Linked DNA regions of Homo sapiens: region 2 is linked to region 1. The links are contacts of gene promoters, found by promoter capture Hi-C in human tissues and cell types (Jung and others, 2019). All regions are on one chromosome and are shown on one strand. The core of a region is centred on a gene start or on the middle of the fragment in contact, and the rest is flanking DNA. Distances in the headings are between cores, read along the strand shown. Region 1 holds the start of RAN (RAN, member RAS oncogene family). Region 2 holds the start of ULK1 (unc-51 like autophagy activating kinase 1).

Region 1 (6,480 bases), core at 2,597-5,096:
CTCATCCGGGAGAGCAGTTGTCTGAGCAACCTAGACGAAGAGATGGAAAAACGTTAACACTCCAGATCAAAACTGCCAGGAATAAACAAGCCAAACCGAACAATCTGAACAGCAAAGTGGCCACAATACCTCTAAGTCGTGCTCATACTGTGCTGCCAAAGCTGGGTCCATGACAACTTCTGGTGGGGCGAGAGCAGGCATGGCAACAAATTCCAAGTTAGGGTCTCCAATGAGCTTCCTAGCAAGCCAGAGGAAGGGCTTTTCAAAGTTGTAGTTACTTTTGGCAGAAATGTCGTAGTACTGTTTAAAAGAAAGGTAAAATTACTTTTTAAAATTCATTATTAAGATGACGATTTTTCTAGGACATTGCAAGATAAGAAAATGTTAAGATTCTTGGCAAGGCATGGTGGCTCATGCCTGTAATCCCAGCACTTTCGGGGGCTGAGGTGGGATTGCCTGAGGCCAATAGTACACGATCAGGCCTGGGCAACAGAGCAAGACCCCAACTCCACAAAAAAACAAATTAGGTGGGCATGGTGGTGAGTGCCTGTGAGCCCAGCTACTCAGAAGGCTGAGGTGGGAGGATTGCTTGAGCCCAGGAGTTCAGGGCTACAGTGAGCTATGTTCATGCCACTGCACTCCTGCCTGGGCAACAGAGCAAGACCCTGTCTCGAACAACAAATATATAAATACACAAACATTTCAGCTGACCAACCGGGCCAACAGTGAAACCCAATCTCTATCATTCTTTAAAAACAGTAGTATAAAAAAGACAAAATTATTTCCGGCCGGGCACAGTGGCTCATGCCTGTAATCCCAGCCCTTTAGGAGGCCAAGGCAAGTGGATCACTTGAGGTCAGGAGTTGGAGATCAGCCTGACCAACATGGTGGAAACCCCGTCTCTACTAGAAAAAAAAGTACAAAAATTAGCCAGGCGTGGTGGTACACACCTGTAATCCAGCTACTAGGGGAGCTGAGACAAAACTGCTTGAACCCGGGAGGCGGAGGTCGCAGTGAGCCAAGATTGCGACACTGCACTCCAGCATGGGGGACAGAGGAAGACTCCGTCTTGGGGAAAAAAAAATCATTTCCATATATAATAGACACTGGTTAATTTCATGGTCTTACATATAATCTCCGCTAAGAGAAATAACTCAGGAAGTTTTAATTTTACACACCTGAAGATTCTTCTTTCGGTGGAAGACAATGGATTTCGCCTTCACTTTCCTGTCCTTAATATCCACTTTGTTGCCACACAACACAATGGGGATGTTTTCACACACTCGTACCAGATCTCTATGCCAGTTAGGCACATTCTTGTAAGTAACTCTCGATGTTACATCAAACATTATGATGGCACACTGGGCTGAAGAAACATTTGTGGGAATTAGTACACTCAGTTTACTGCACAAGTGAAGAATGCTAAGAACCAGAGACTAGGATTCAACTAGTTATAGTCTTAGACCTCAACGAGTCACCTGTATCTCTCCCCTCACTTTCAAGGTCTCTGTCAATTCTAAAAATGTTAATACACAATTCCTCCTAAGAGAGATGAGCTGACCCTATCAAATCTCCCTGATATACTTCACCATTAATACTCCCCTCATCCCAAAAAAGTATCTGAAGTAATTAATGCTAAATGAGATTCTGGATAACCAAGCTGCCATATTCTGAGGGTAGGGCCTGGAAACACATTCTTCAGAAGGTCTTTAAATGGCTGGCTATACTGGAAAACATTATTCCTGTCTTAAAAAATCCAGATAGGCCAAGCAATGTGGCTCACGTCTGTAATCCCAGCACTTTGAGAGGCTGAGGTGGGTGGATCACCTGAGCTCATGAGTTCCAGACCAGCATGGGCAACATGGTGAATCCCCATCTCTACAAAAAAATACAAAAATTAGTCAGGCATAGTGGCACGTGCCTATAGTCCAAGCTACTCAGGATGCTGAGGTAAGAGGATGGCTTGAGCTTAGGAGGCGGAAGCTGCACTCCAGGTTGGGCAACAGAGCGAAACCCTGTCTCAAAAAAAAATTAAATAAATAAATAACCCAGATAAAGCCTATATATTCACCTGCAGGAATAACTATGGTACAGTTAGCAAGGCAAGAAACCACAACTTTTTGGTTAAAGGATTCTTTTGGGGGAAATTCTTGTGTTTATTTGTACATGCTCAAGGAAAGCAAAAGGCATGGAATGATTCCAGATAATGTGTTATCGGCAACGTGAGGTTCCAAGAGAGATGAGTATTTTCTTGATTCCTCTTTTTGGTACAATGAACATTTTCCTTGCAATTTTTAAATCAAACTATTTGAGAAAAATACTCTGCACAACTTAGTACAAACAATTTAACAAGAAATCAGCTAGTCTTGTATAACACTTGTTAAGATCTCCTATCTCCTCTGGTCTAGTATCTGGTGTTTATTGTTTTCTAATACAGTAAAAACATTCATTGATCACCACACCAAAATACATACATGAACCTAAGTTTCCAAATACTGAAACTGCTGTTAACAGCCTATTATTGTTTTAAATATGACTTATAAGTCCCAGTGTAAGTCATAGTTTTTTCTAAAGCATGCCTAGCATGACACAGCATGCAAATGACACAACTTTAATAAAATTTTCTCTGCCACCAAAATGGTGGTCAACTCCCCGAAGTCCACTTGTCTTTTTTTAACCCAAAAATGACACTATTTGTTGGAACAGACCTGATTTTCTATAACCTTGAAGACTGAAGTACACAAAACCTCTCAAAAACCGTTCAGCAAGTTACAAATGCCTACCTTGGATATAATAGCCATCTCTCAGTCCACCGAATTTCTCCTGGCCGGCTGTGTCCCATACATTGAACTTAATAGGTCCTCTGTTGGTGTGGAACACTAGGGGATGAACCTCAACACCCAAGGTGGCTGAAACGGAAACGATGCGATTGAGTGGATGAACTTACCCATTTCTCACATATTTCCACAAGCAAGGTTTTCCAGCACATACCTACATACTTCTTCTCAAATTCACCAGTCAAATGACGTTTCACGAAGGTCGTTTTTCCAGTACCACCATCACCAACCAATACAAGCTGTTGAAAAACACATTTTGGAAGTAAACCCTAAACACTTCACCTCTCAAGATCCCAGAGTCACGGAACTTTAACCACCACAGGCTCACTTAAAACAAAGAATGTGGATGCGGGGCCCCATTACAGCCATCGTGGCCCCAGGAGGAGGGACCCGCGAGTCGCACGCGGTCGGGCTCGGCCGCCTCCCGCCCCGCAGGGTTACCTACTTTGAACTGGACCTGGGGCTCTCCCTGCGCAGCCATCGCGGCGTTCCTGCGGAGGCAGAGGACGGAGGCGAGCGCTCGCGCGGCCCCGCAGCCCATGGCGGCCCCGCTCCCGCGCCCCCAGCGCCCCACGTGCCCGCCCCACAAAGGCCTCCCGCCCGCGGCGCCATGGCGGCCAGGCCTGGGAGCGGGAAGGCGGCGGGCGGGGCCGGCATCCGGGGCGGCGGGGCCCGGGGAACGGCGGCCGGAGGTGTAGGGATGGGAACGGGACTGGGACCGGGACGGGGATGAGAGCGGAGGATGAAACGGGGGTTCGCGGGGGCTAGCGCCGACCCCACGCCCGTCTCCTGCCCCGGCCCGGCCGGGCCCGCACCACCCACCTACTCAGCCGCCCGCTGCCCCTGGGTCCGCCACCCGCCCCGGCCCTGGCCCCGGCTCCGACCCCTATCCCGCCGCCGCCACCCCTGTCCCCGCCCGGCCGTGCCGGGCCCGCCGGGTCGCGATACCTTCCAGAAGCGTCTCCGCGCCCGTCCGACTGAGGCTGGAAAGATGGCGGAAGCGCAATTCAAACGCCGGAGACGCAGCCGACGCCGGCGCGAGAGCAGGGGCGGGGCCGGCGCGGGGCGGGGTTGCAAGGGGCGGGGCAACGGCGCGGCGCCCGCCCACGTGGCCCGCGCGTGCGCGCACGCACGCAACGCGGTTCGGTCGGCCGCTCGGGCGGTCGCTGCGCTTAGGGTGGGGCGGGAGGCGCGGTGGACCGCGTGGGAGGGCGAGCCGGGAGCGCGTACGCAAGCCGGCCGGTGGGGACCGCGTGCGCCGACGCCCCGGGCGGGCTCCCGGGCGCGCATGCGCTGAAAGCGAGGCGGCGCGCCCCTGAGCGGGAGACGTTGGGCGCGGCCCGACGGTCGCGGCTCTCCTGCCTCCCGGGTGGGAGGCGGTACTCGCTCGGGCAGACGTGGTCAGGCACGCGGCTTCCAGGCGCTGGCCAGCCTGTCCTTGTCTGTGCCCCGTGGGGTGGGGGTTCTTGAGGTCCTGGGGCTTAGGGTGGCTCGCGTGCGCGCAGGACGGGTGGGTGACAGAACGAATGAATGAATGAATGGGGTCTAGGCCCGTCCTCCAGAGGCAGCCCGCTGTTCTGTCTCTCCAGATCGTAGCCTTCACGCCCCCAGGACCAGGGCCAGTTGGAGAGCGAGGAACCAGAGAGGGATGCACCCACCCAGAAAAACGGCTACTTATTTTTTTTAAGAGACGGAGTCTCGCTACGTTGCCCAGGCTGGTCTCGAACTCTCAGGCTCGGGCGATCCTCCCGCCTCAGCCTCCCGAGTAGCTGGGACTACAGGCGCGCACCACATCAGGGGTAATTTTTTAAAAATTTTTTTGAGAGACAGAATCTAACTATGTCTCCCAGGCTGGCCTCAGGGGATCCACCCGCCTCGGCCTCCCAAAGCGTCCGGCTTCTCAAAGCGTTTCATAGGTTGGCAGCTTTGGCCGCTGCATGCTACAGACAAAATGATGAAATACTGTTTGCAGTCTGGACGCGTCTACCAGCCCTAGTTACCAACGGGGACGGAATGAGTAAGTGCTCAGCTTCCCAGCCCCCTGTTGGCCTGAAGCTGTAAGAGCCCAAACAAGCTTGAGCTAGAGGGACCCGACTTCCTGGGCGCCCCTGCCGACATGCAGACAGATAAAGGCCCAAATCAGCGCAGTCAAGCGCCTCAGAAGAGTCCACCATGGGGAGAGAGCCGCAGTGACCGAAGAGTCCTCCCTGCAGTCCTGAGCACACTTGCAGGCGAGTCCGCTAGGAACCCCAGTGACGCAAATTAGGCACAAAGCAGGCGACAACCGGCCTGCTGGGAACGCAAGTCCGAGCTCCCCCAGAACCCTCAGGGGAACCCCAAGCACCTCTCAGACGCTGCTGGCGGGAGAGCAGAATCTAACAGTAAAACGGGAATGCCCATTGCTTGTGACCCCGGATTTCCATTTCTAGGGAGAGGCCCCAGAGTTAAACTCATGCCTCACGCATGTGCACAACATTTAATACTGTATAACATTTAAAAGGAATGACGGTCATCTGTTTCAACAGGGTTAGATAGATGTCAAAAGGATAGTGTTGAGAAAAGAAGAAAGAGGTGATAACAGCTTTATAAAGTCTAGGCCACCTGTAATCCCAGCACTTTGGGAGTCCGAGGTAGGAGGATCCCTTAAACCCAGGAGTTACAGGCTGCAATGGGCAATGATCTCACCATTGCACTCCAGCCTGGGAGACAGAGCAAGACCCTGTTTTCAAAAATTAATACATAAAACCTAACACTATATGTAACTTTATCTAGAGGGATTATATATATAGTATAATGTCATTTATGTATATTTTTTACAAATACACATAAAACAAAAGCATATTGGCTATTGGATATATGTATTTTGTTGTTTTTTTTAATTGACTGCAAGGATCTATATACCATATCCTGATGGTTATTGCTTCAAGAAAGGGTAGAAAGGAGTGTGATGGAACTGAGAAGAGGAGTCAAAGAAGACTTTAACTTTACCTGCAATGTTCTATTTCCTTTTTTTTTTTTTTTTGAGACAGCCTCACTCTCGCTCAGGCTGGAGTGCAGTGGTGCGATCTCGGCTCATTGCAACTTCCGCCTCCCAGGTTCAAGTGATTCTCCTGCCTCAGCCTCCTGAGTAGCTGGGATTACAGGCATGCGCCACAACACCCAGCTATTTTTTTTATTTTTATCTTATTTTTATTTTTAGTAGAAACAGGGTTTCATTATATTGGAATAGGTAATCGAGTGGTCACTTTGGCAGCACGTATACCAAAATTGGAATGATACGGAGAAGATTAGCATGGCCCCTGCGCAAGGATGACAATTTTTTTTCTTCTTCTTTTTTTTTTTTTTTTTTTTTTGAGACAGATTCTCGCTCTTGTCACCCAGGAACTGCGGAGAGAGGTCATAGAAGAGTTTAACCTTACCTGCAATGTTCCATTTCTTTTTTAAAAAATGGTAATCAGGGCCGGGCACGGTGGCTCACGCCTGTAATCCCAGCACTTTGGGAGGCCAAGGCGGGCAGATCACGAGGTCAGGAGATCGAGACCATCCTGGCTAAACCGGTGAAACCCCGTCTCTACTAAAAATACAAAAAATTAGCTGGGCGTGGTGGCGGGTGCCTGTAGTCCCAGCTACTCGGGAGGCTGAG
Region 2 (6,480 bases), core at 2,204-4,703, 1.0 Mb before region 1:
TTTCTGCTTCACAGAGGAAGAAATAGGACCGCAAACTAAAGAAGCTGTGTGTGCACATATGGCAGCCAGGACTGGGCCCCTCATCAGCGTCAGCCTGGCTCTCGACCACTGTGCTTACAGATGGTGACCTCTAACAGAGAGGGGTAAACTTTTTGAGGGTTTTGTTTTGTGTTTTTGAGACAGGGTTACACTCTGCTGCCCAGGCTGGAACGCGGTGGCAACATCACGGCTCACTGCAGCCTTAAACTCCTGGGTTTAATCAATCCTCCTACAACCTTTATAGTAGCTGAGACATGCCACTATGCCTGGCTAATTTTTTTTCTTTTTTTTTCTTTTTTTTAGAGAGAGCGAGTCTTGCTATGTTGCCCAGGCTGGTCTGTCTTGGCCTCCCACAGTGCTAGGGTCACAGGTGTGATCCACTGTGCCTGGCCGAGGGGTAAACTTTCTGATATGGATTGAGCCAGCACAGAACCTTCCCCAAGCTCTACTCTTTTAGAGACAGGGCCTCGCTCAGTCGCCCAGGCTGGATGGAGTGCAAACTATACTCTTAAGTGACAAAATTCACGGCGCAGAGAGGTGGGTGTGGCGGGGAAGGACACCGGTGAACACATCGCCTTGTAAGGATGGCTGTCCCCGGTGGCCCGGAAACAACTAAAGCAGGGGCCTGAGAACGGAGGGCAGCGGGACTCGATCGGGGGCAGGACTCTAGCCTCGACCGCACTCCCTCCCGTAATGTTTGAGGATTTTCTTTTATCACCCAAATCGTTCATTGTCCATTTTTAAAACCCAGTTATTTTTTCCTGGGTTTGGGTGCCTGCCTCAAACATTGCCTTACCGACACAGGGCAACAATCCCCACGCCTGTGGGGGCGAGGGCAGGCTAAGCTGCAGCTCCAGCAGAGCCCGGTGCCCGGAGACAGGAGCGCCTGCAGCTGGCGGCTCCAAGTGCTTCCTGAGTAGAGAAAGCCGCAGAGTTGCCAACACTGGAGGAAGTGGCAGATGCCCACAACCAGGTGTGTGTGGCTGACTGGGATGGAGCTGGGCCTGGGGATACTGGTCCCGGGTCTGCGGGGGTCGTGCGGACAGTCACAGGGCCTGGCCTGGAGATGCCCAGGACTGGACCTGGGGAGCCCTGGAGGGGAGCAGCAGGCAGTGTAGCCCAGGGTGGAGGGGGAGTCCCTCAGAGTCGCTGCCTGGCCAGGGACAGCTGTCCACTCCTTGCTGGCTCCCAGAGCCATGACGCATGTGCAGGCTGTGGTCCAGGCAGGAGGCTTCCAAACATGGAGAGGATGAGGAAAGAGGAGGAAGGGAGGGAGGAAAGCAGGGAGAAAAGGGGTGGGAAGAGGGCGGGAAAAGCAGCAGGAGGGATGGCCCAGCTCCAGGACACAGTGTGCCTGGGTTTCCAGGTACTCGCTGGACCTGGGCCCCCCCCACCCGGCACCTTGTGACAAGCCTCGGTCCCCAAGGCCACAGCAAAGCTCTGAGAGGCGGACGGAGGAGGCCACCAAAACACGGCCTGCCAGCCCTTCCCTCAGCCAGGGGCTGGGCCCTGGGCTCAGTAAACAGGTCACAGAGCCATTAGTCAGCACTTTGGCGGGGCGGATCTCCCGCCTCAGGTTCCTGGTCCCCAGGACGGCACCCTGGCTCCCACAGCCCCAGCCCTGCCTGCCCTGGGCCCCGGGACACGGAGGCAGCACGAAAGCCAGCTGGTCCCACCGCTTGCTTCTTGGGGCCAGCCGGGCCCGAGGTCATCTCCTTGGCCAGCCAGCGGCAGCCGCCTGTGCCCCGGCCCGGCCCTGACTGCCAGCGAGCAGGAGTCTCCGGCGGCCCCTCCCCCGCCCCGTCTGACGCAGAGCGAGGCCGGCCAATGCCGGCCGCAGGAGCAATGTCAACAAACACACGGCCTAGACAGGTGGGCCAGGCCGGCAGTGCTGCCAGGGCCAGCCGGGGACGCCGGACTCAGGCAGGGCCCCTAGGACTGACGCCCGGCGGGGAGGGGATGCCTGTTCAGGAGAACTCAGCCCTGCCCTGGGGCGCCCTGCGGCCCAGACACCCCCTCCCCGGTCTCACAGCTGGGGAAGTCACAGCAAGAGCCAGCACCAGCCCAGGCCTGGACCCAGGGTGGAGTCTCCAGGGGCCCAGTAGACCCCAGCCTGGACAGGCTCAACACCAGTGCTCACCAGGGGATCCAGCACCTGGGGCCACAGTCCCCCAGCCCGGTCCCCAGCAGACCGCAGCCCAGAGGCCTTACCTGGAAGTCGTACAGGGCCACGATGTTTTCATGTTTCAGTTCCTAGGACAGAAACCCAAGTTTGTTATCAGTGTGGGGAGGGGGGCTTGCCCACGCCCACGCCCACGCCCCCTCCCCCAGCACTGGCTCACCTTCAGGATTTTGATTTCCTTCCCCAGCAGCGTCTGAGACTTGGCGAGGTTCTTCTTGTTAATGCACTTGACGGCGACCTCCAAATCGTGCTTCTGAAAGCCAAACGTGCACCTTCAAGGCCAGGGCTGCCCCTCGCAGGCCTCCCCCAGACCCCAGTCCACACAGGTGGGGCCCTGAGATGATCCCGGTTGGGAATCCCGGGACTGGAAGGCCGAGTGGGGAGCCAGGTTGAGGATCGCGCTGGGGGTCCTGGGGTAGGGATCCAGCCTCGAAAGCCGGCTGTGGGACCAGGTTGCGGGGTGTCCCGGGGTGAGGGTTTGGACAGGAAAGTCGGGCTGGGGGTCTCGGAGTGAGGATCTGGGCTGGAAAGCCCGGCAGCGGATCTCGGGGCGGGAGTCTGAACTGGAAAGTCGGGCTGGGGGTCGCGGGGTGGGGATCCTGGGGTGGGGGTCGGCCTGGAAAGTCGAGTGGGGCTCTCGGGAGGCGTGGGGGGGTCCCGGGACAGGCGGGGAATCTCGGGGCGGGGATGCAGGGGCAGGGGATCCTGGGCGGGGGATCCCGGGCCGGACGGGGGCCTCACCTCGCGGTGGCGGCCCTTGAAGACCACCGCGAAGGCGCCGTGGCCGATCAGGTCCTTGCGGGAGAACTCGAACTTGCCCACGGTCTCTGTGCCGCCGCGGCCGGGCTCCATGGCGCAGGCGGGCCGGGGGCGCGGGGCGGGGGGTGGCGGGCCAAGGCGCGGGGGACTCAGGCGGAGGCGCGGGCCGGGGCGGGCGGGCCGGGGGCGCGGGGCCGGGGGCGCGGGGCCGGGCGAGGGCGCATCTCCGGGGCCGCGCGCCCCATCGGGCAGGCCGGGGCCGGGTCCCAGCCCCGCGGGCCAGGCGGGGTCCGAGGGTCGCGCTCCCTCCGGCGCCTGTGCCACGGCACTCTTCCCGGGCTGCTAATCCGAATCCGGATCCGACTCCGACTCCGACTCCGGCTCCAACTAGGGCCCGGGCTCGGCCCCAACGGAGAAACAAAAGAGCCGCGGCGCCCGGGCCTCAGAGCCTGAGACGCCCGCGCAGCCGCACTGCGCGCCGGGCCGGGAGGCGGGATGAGGGCGGGGCCTGCGGGACGGAGCGGCAGAGCCGGGCGTGACGAACAGACGGGGGGCGGGGAATGGGGCGGGGCCTGTCGGGGGGGTGGGCGGCTGGGCCGGGCCATTGCGGGGCCGGGTGGGCTGGGAGTGGGTGGGGCCAACAGCGGACCCGCCCCGGTGAGAGCAGAGAGGCGCGCTGACCCGGGAGCGGGCCACGGGGCTCAGTGTTGATTCCTTGCCCCACTCCCTTCCACGCCCCTTCCCCGCCCCTTCCCCGCCCCGCTTCTTCTCTGCTCCCCTCCCTCCTTTCCCCTCTCTCCGTCCTCCTCCCTCCTTTTCCCCTTCCCATCACCTCTCTCCCTCCCTGCCCCCTCCCTTCCGCCCCCTCCCATGCCTTCCCCCCCGCTCCCCTCCCGCCCCCACTGCCTGTTCTCCTCCCTCCTGTCCCCCCTCCCTGTTCCCCTCCCTCCCCTTCCCTGTTCCCCTCCTTCCCGCTCCCTGTTCCCCTTCTACAGGAGAATGGAGAACAGGCGTGGGAAATGTTCCCAAAACGGGGGACTGCGCAGAATTAATTCTTAGAAATAGAATGGCTGAGTTAGAGGTTAGGCATTTAAAGTTGAGTTCCATAATGCCAAATTGCAAAAAAAAAAAAAAAAATTGTAGACCAAAAAGTTGTCACCCAAACCAACGACATAGCCCATAAATCCGCTGGGGAGGAAAGGTTAGCTAGATGGGCTGCGCATCGGTCCTGTGGAACACTGCACAGAGGTAAATATACCTGTGCTCAAGGGTGAGTTCTCCAAAGATTATAATTAAGTAAAAGCAAAATATGGAACAGGGCACTGTACTGTCTGTCGTTTTAAGAAAGCGGTAGGATTGGGATGTGTGTGTGTGTGAAACGCCTGTAATGTGTACATGGTCGTTCCTAACTATAATGACAGCTAACTCATCACTTAGGCCAAGCAGCGCACTTTCCAGCGATTAGTGCATCCATTCAATGATTCCACGAGGCACTTGCTGTTATGTCCCTGTTTTACAGATGAGGAAATCAAGGCGGAGAAAAGTTGGAGAATGTGTCCAAAGTCACACCGCCGGCAGCCAAAAGAGCCCGGGGGCTCACTCACAGAAGACACAGCCAACAGCGATTGCTCTGGGAGAGAGGACCGGGGAAAAGTTAGTGCTGTTCACCGTACACGTTGCGCGCTAGTTGGAATGGCTTTCACCACGTGCAAGCACTGCTTTTGCAAATGCATGATTCTAAACAATGCTCACCAACCCAGCCTTCAGTACAGTCCTAAAGTAACAGCCCAGAAACACACACTTCAGCCAGGACCCTCCATGCTGCCTCCCAGAGCAGCCCAGCAGCTGGACAGCCTGATGCCCTGGGCTGGATCAGCAAGTCCTGGATGCCTTTTACCTGCACCCAGCTCATCCTCCAGGCCGCAGGACACACAGACTCCCGACCCTGGACTGGGGGCCAGAAGCCACCGAGCTGGAAGGGACAAGAGGTCTCCTGGCCCACCATGTTTGTTTTCCCAATAAAGAGGTTCCACAGTGCCCCGTAGTCAGCCATAGCATTCACTCACATCCTGGAGTGCCTGCTGCACACCGGCCTGCCCAGAGAGCACACGCTGCGAGGTAAGTGCTGCAGTTGACACAGTGAGAACAAGACCCGCCTGCAGGAGCTCCCAGCGCTTAGGGGTGGGGGACAAGAAGAGCAAAGATTGCACCACCCGTGGCAAAATTGCAAGAGAAAAATGAGTGAACAGGTGGCTACGTGCTGAGGTGATCAGGGCAGACCGTGAGGGCCGAGATTGCTAGAGATGGCGAAGCCTGTACTCCTGGAAAGTACTCAGGGAACCCCAGCCCAGCCCACCCTGGCCTGGAAAGCCAAGCTAACGGGGTCTTCACCCCAAACTCAAAGAAATACCCAGGAAGAGTTTAGGAGAGGGTGGGATGGCAAGATGGGATTTGCATTTGGAAACCGTTACTAGGCCCACCGAGGAAGGACATGTTTCTTTTTTGTTTTGTGCGGTCTTATTAAATTTTTTATTCTTTTTATAACTTTTAGGTTCAGTGGTGTGTGGACAGGTTTGTTATACAGGTAAATTATGTTTCACAGGGTTTGATGAACGGATTATTTCATCACCCAGGTAATAAGCAGAGTACCCGATAAGTAGTTTTTTGATCCTCTCTCCCTCCTCCCACCCTCCCACCCTCAAGTGGGACCTGGTGTCTCTTGTTCCCTTCTTTGTGTCCTATTTTCTTTTTTTTTTTTTTGAGACGGAGTCTCGCTCTTTCGCCCAGGCTGGAGTGCAGTGGCGCTATCTTGGCTCACTGCAAGCTCCGCCTCCCAGGTTCACGCCTTTCTCCTGCCTCAGCCTCCCGATTAGCTGGAACTACAGGCGCCCGCCACCACACCTGGCTAATTTTTTGTATTTTTAGTAGAGATGAGGTTTCACCGTGTTAGCCAGGATGGTCTCGATCTCCTGACCTCGTGATCTGCCCACCTCGGCCTCCCAAAGTGCTGGGATTATAGGTGTGAGCCACAGCGCCCGGCCCGTATATTTTCAGTGTTTACCTCCCACTTATAAGTGAGAACATGTAGTGTTTGGTTTTCTGTTCCTGTGTTAGTTCGCTTAGGATGATGGCCTCCAACTCCATCCATGTTGCTGCAGAGGACATGATCTCATTCTTTTTTATGGCTGTGTAGTATTTCATGGTGTATATGTACCACAGTTTCTTTTTTTTGAGACAGGGTCTCACTCTGTCACCCAGGCTGGAGTGCAGTGGCTCAATCGCCACTCACTGCAGCCTTGACTACCTGGGTTTAGGTGATCCTCCTGCCTCACCCTCCCAAGCAGCTGGGATTACAGGTGCACGCCACCACACCCTACTAATTTTTGTATTTTTTGTAGAGATGAGATCTCACTATGTTGCCCAGGCTAGTCTCAAACTCCTGGGCCCAAGTGATCCTCCCGCCTCGGCCTCCCAAAGTGTTAGGATTATAGACGTAAGCC

What was found. The method cuts DNA at HindIII sites, captures the fragments that hold promoters and counts their contacts. A contact is called where the count stands out against the background at its distance.
Region 2: a contact is called between the fragment with the promoter of ULK1 here and the fragment with the promoter of RAN in region 1, in 2 of the 25 tissues and cell types used here (dorsolateral prefrontal cortex and hippocampus).

Annotation. Positions count from the first base shown.
Region 1 is chr12:130,869,432-130,875,911 of GRCh38, reverse strand. RAN (RAN, member RAS oncogene family) reads right to left here and starts at 3,846. Exons shown (of 7, transcript NM_006325.5): 1 at 3,786-3,846; 2 at 3,283-3,328; 3 at 2,992-3,076; 4 at 2,784-2,909; 5 at 1,179-1,366; 6 at 130-300; 7 at 1-30. The coding sequence starts at 3,318. It also overlaps the pseudogene RNU6-1077P. RefSeq lists enhancers at 1,985-2,054, 3,283-4,044, 4,542-4,621, 4,045-4,806 and silencers at 3,332-3,541, 3,592-3,731, 3,802-4,261. The HindIII fragment of the contact is 9,011 bases long and covers 1-6,480 here.
Region 2 is chr12:131,891,595-131,898,074 of GRCh38, reverse strand. ULK1 (unc-51 like autophagy activating kinase 1) reads right to left here and starts at 3,453. Exons shown (of 28, transcript NM_003565.4): 1 at 2,963-3,453; 2 at 2,382-2,474; 3 at 2,251-2,292. The coding sequence starts at 3,073. It overlaps LOC124903059 (a long non-coding RNA gene), which reads left to right and starts at 3,917. Exons shown (of 2, transcript XR_007063538.1): 1 at 3,917-4,228; 2 at 4,500-5,017. RefSeq lists an enhancer at 472-1,269 and silencers at 1,637-1,696, 1,727-1,786, 1,757-2,051, 3,194-3,703, 3,734-3,783 and 1 more. The HindIII fragment of the contact is 30,695 bases long and covers 1-6,480 here.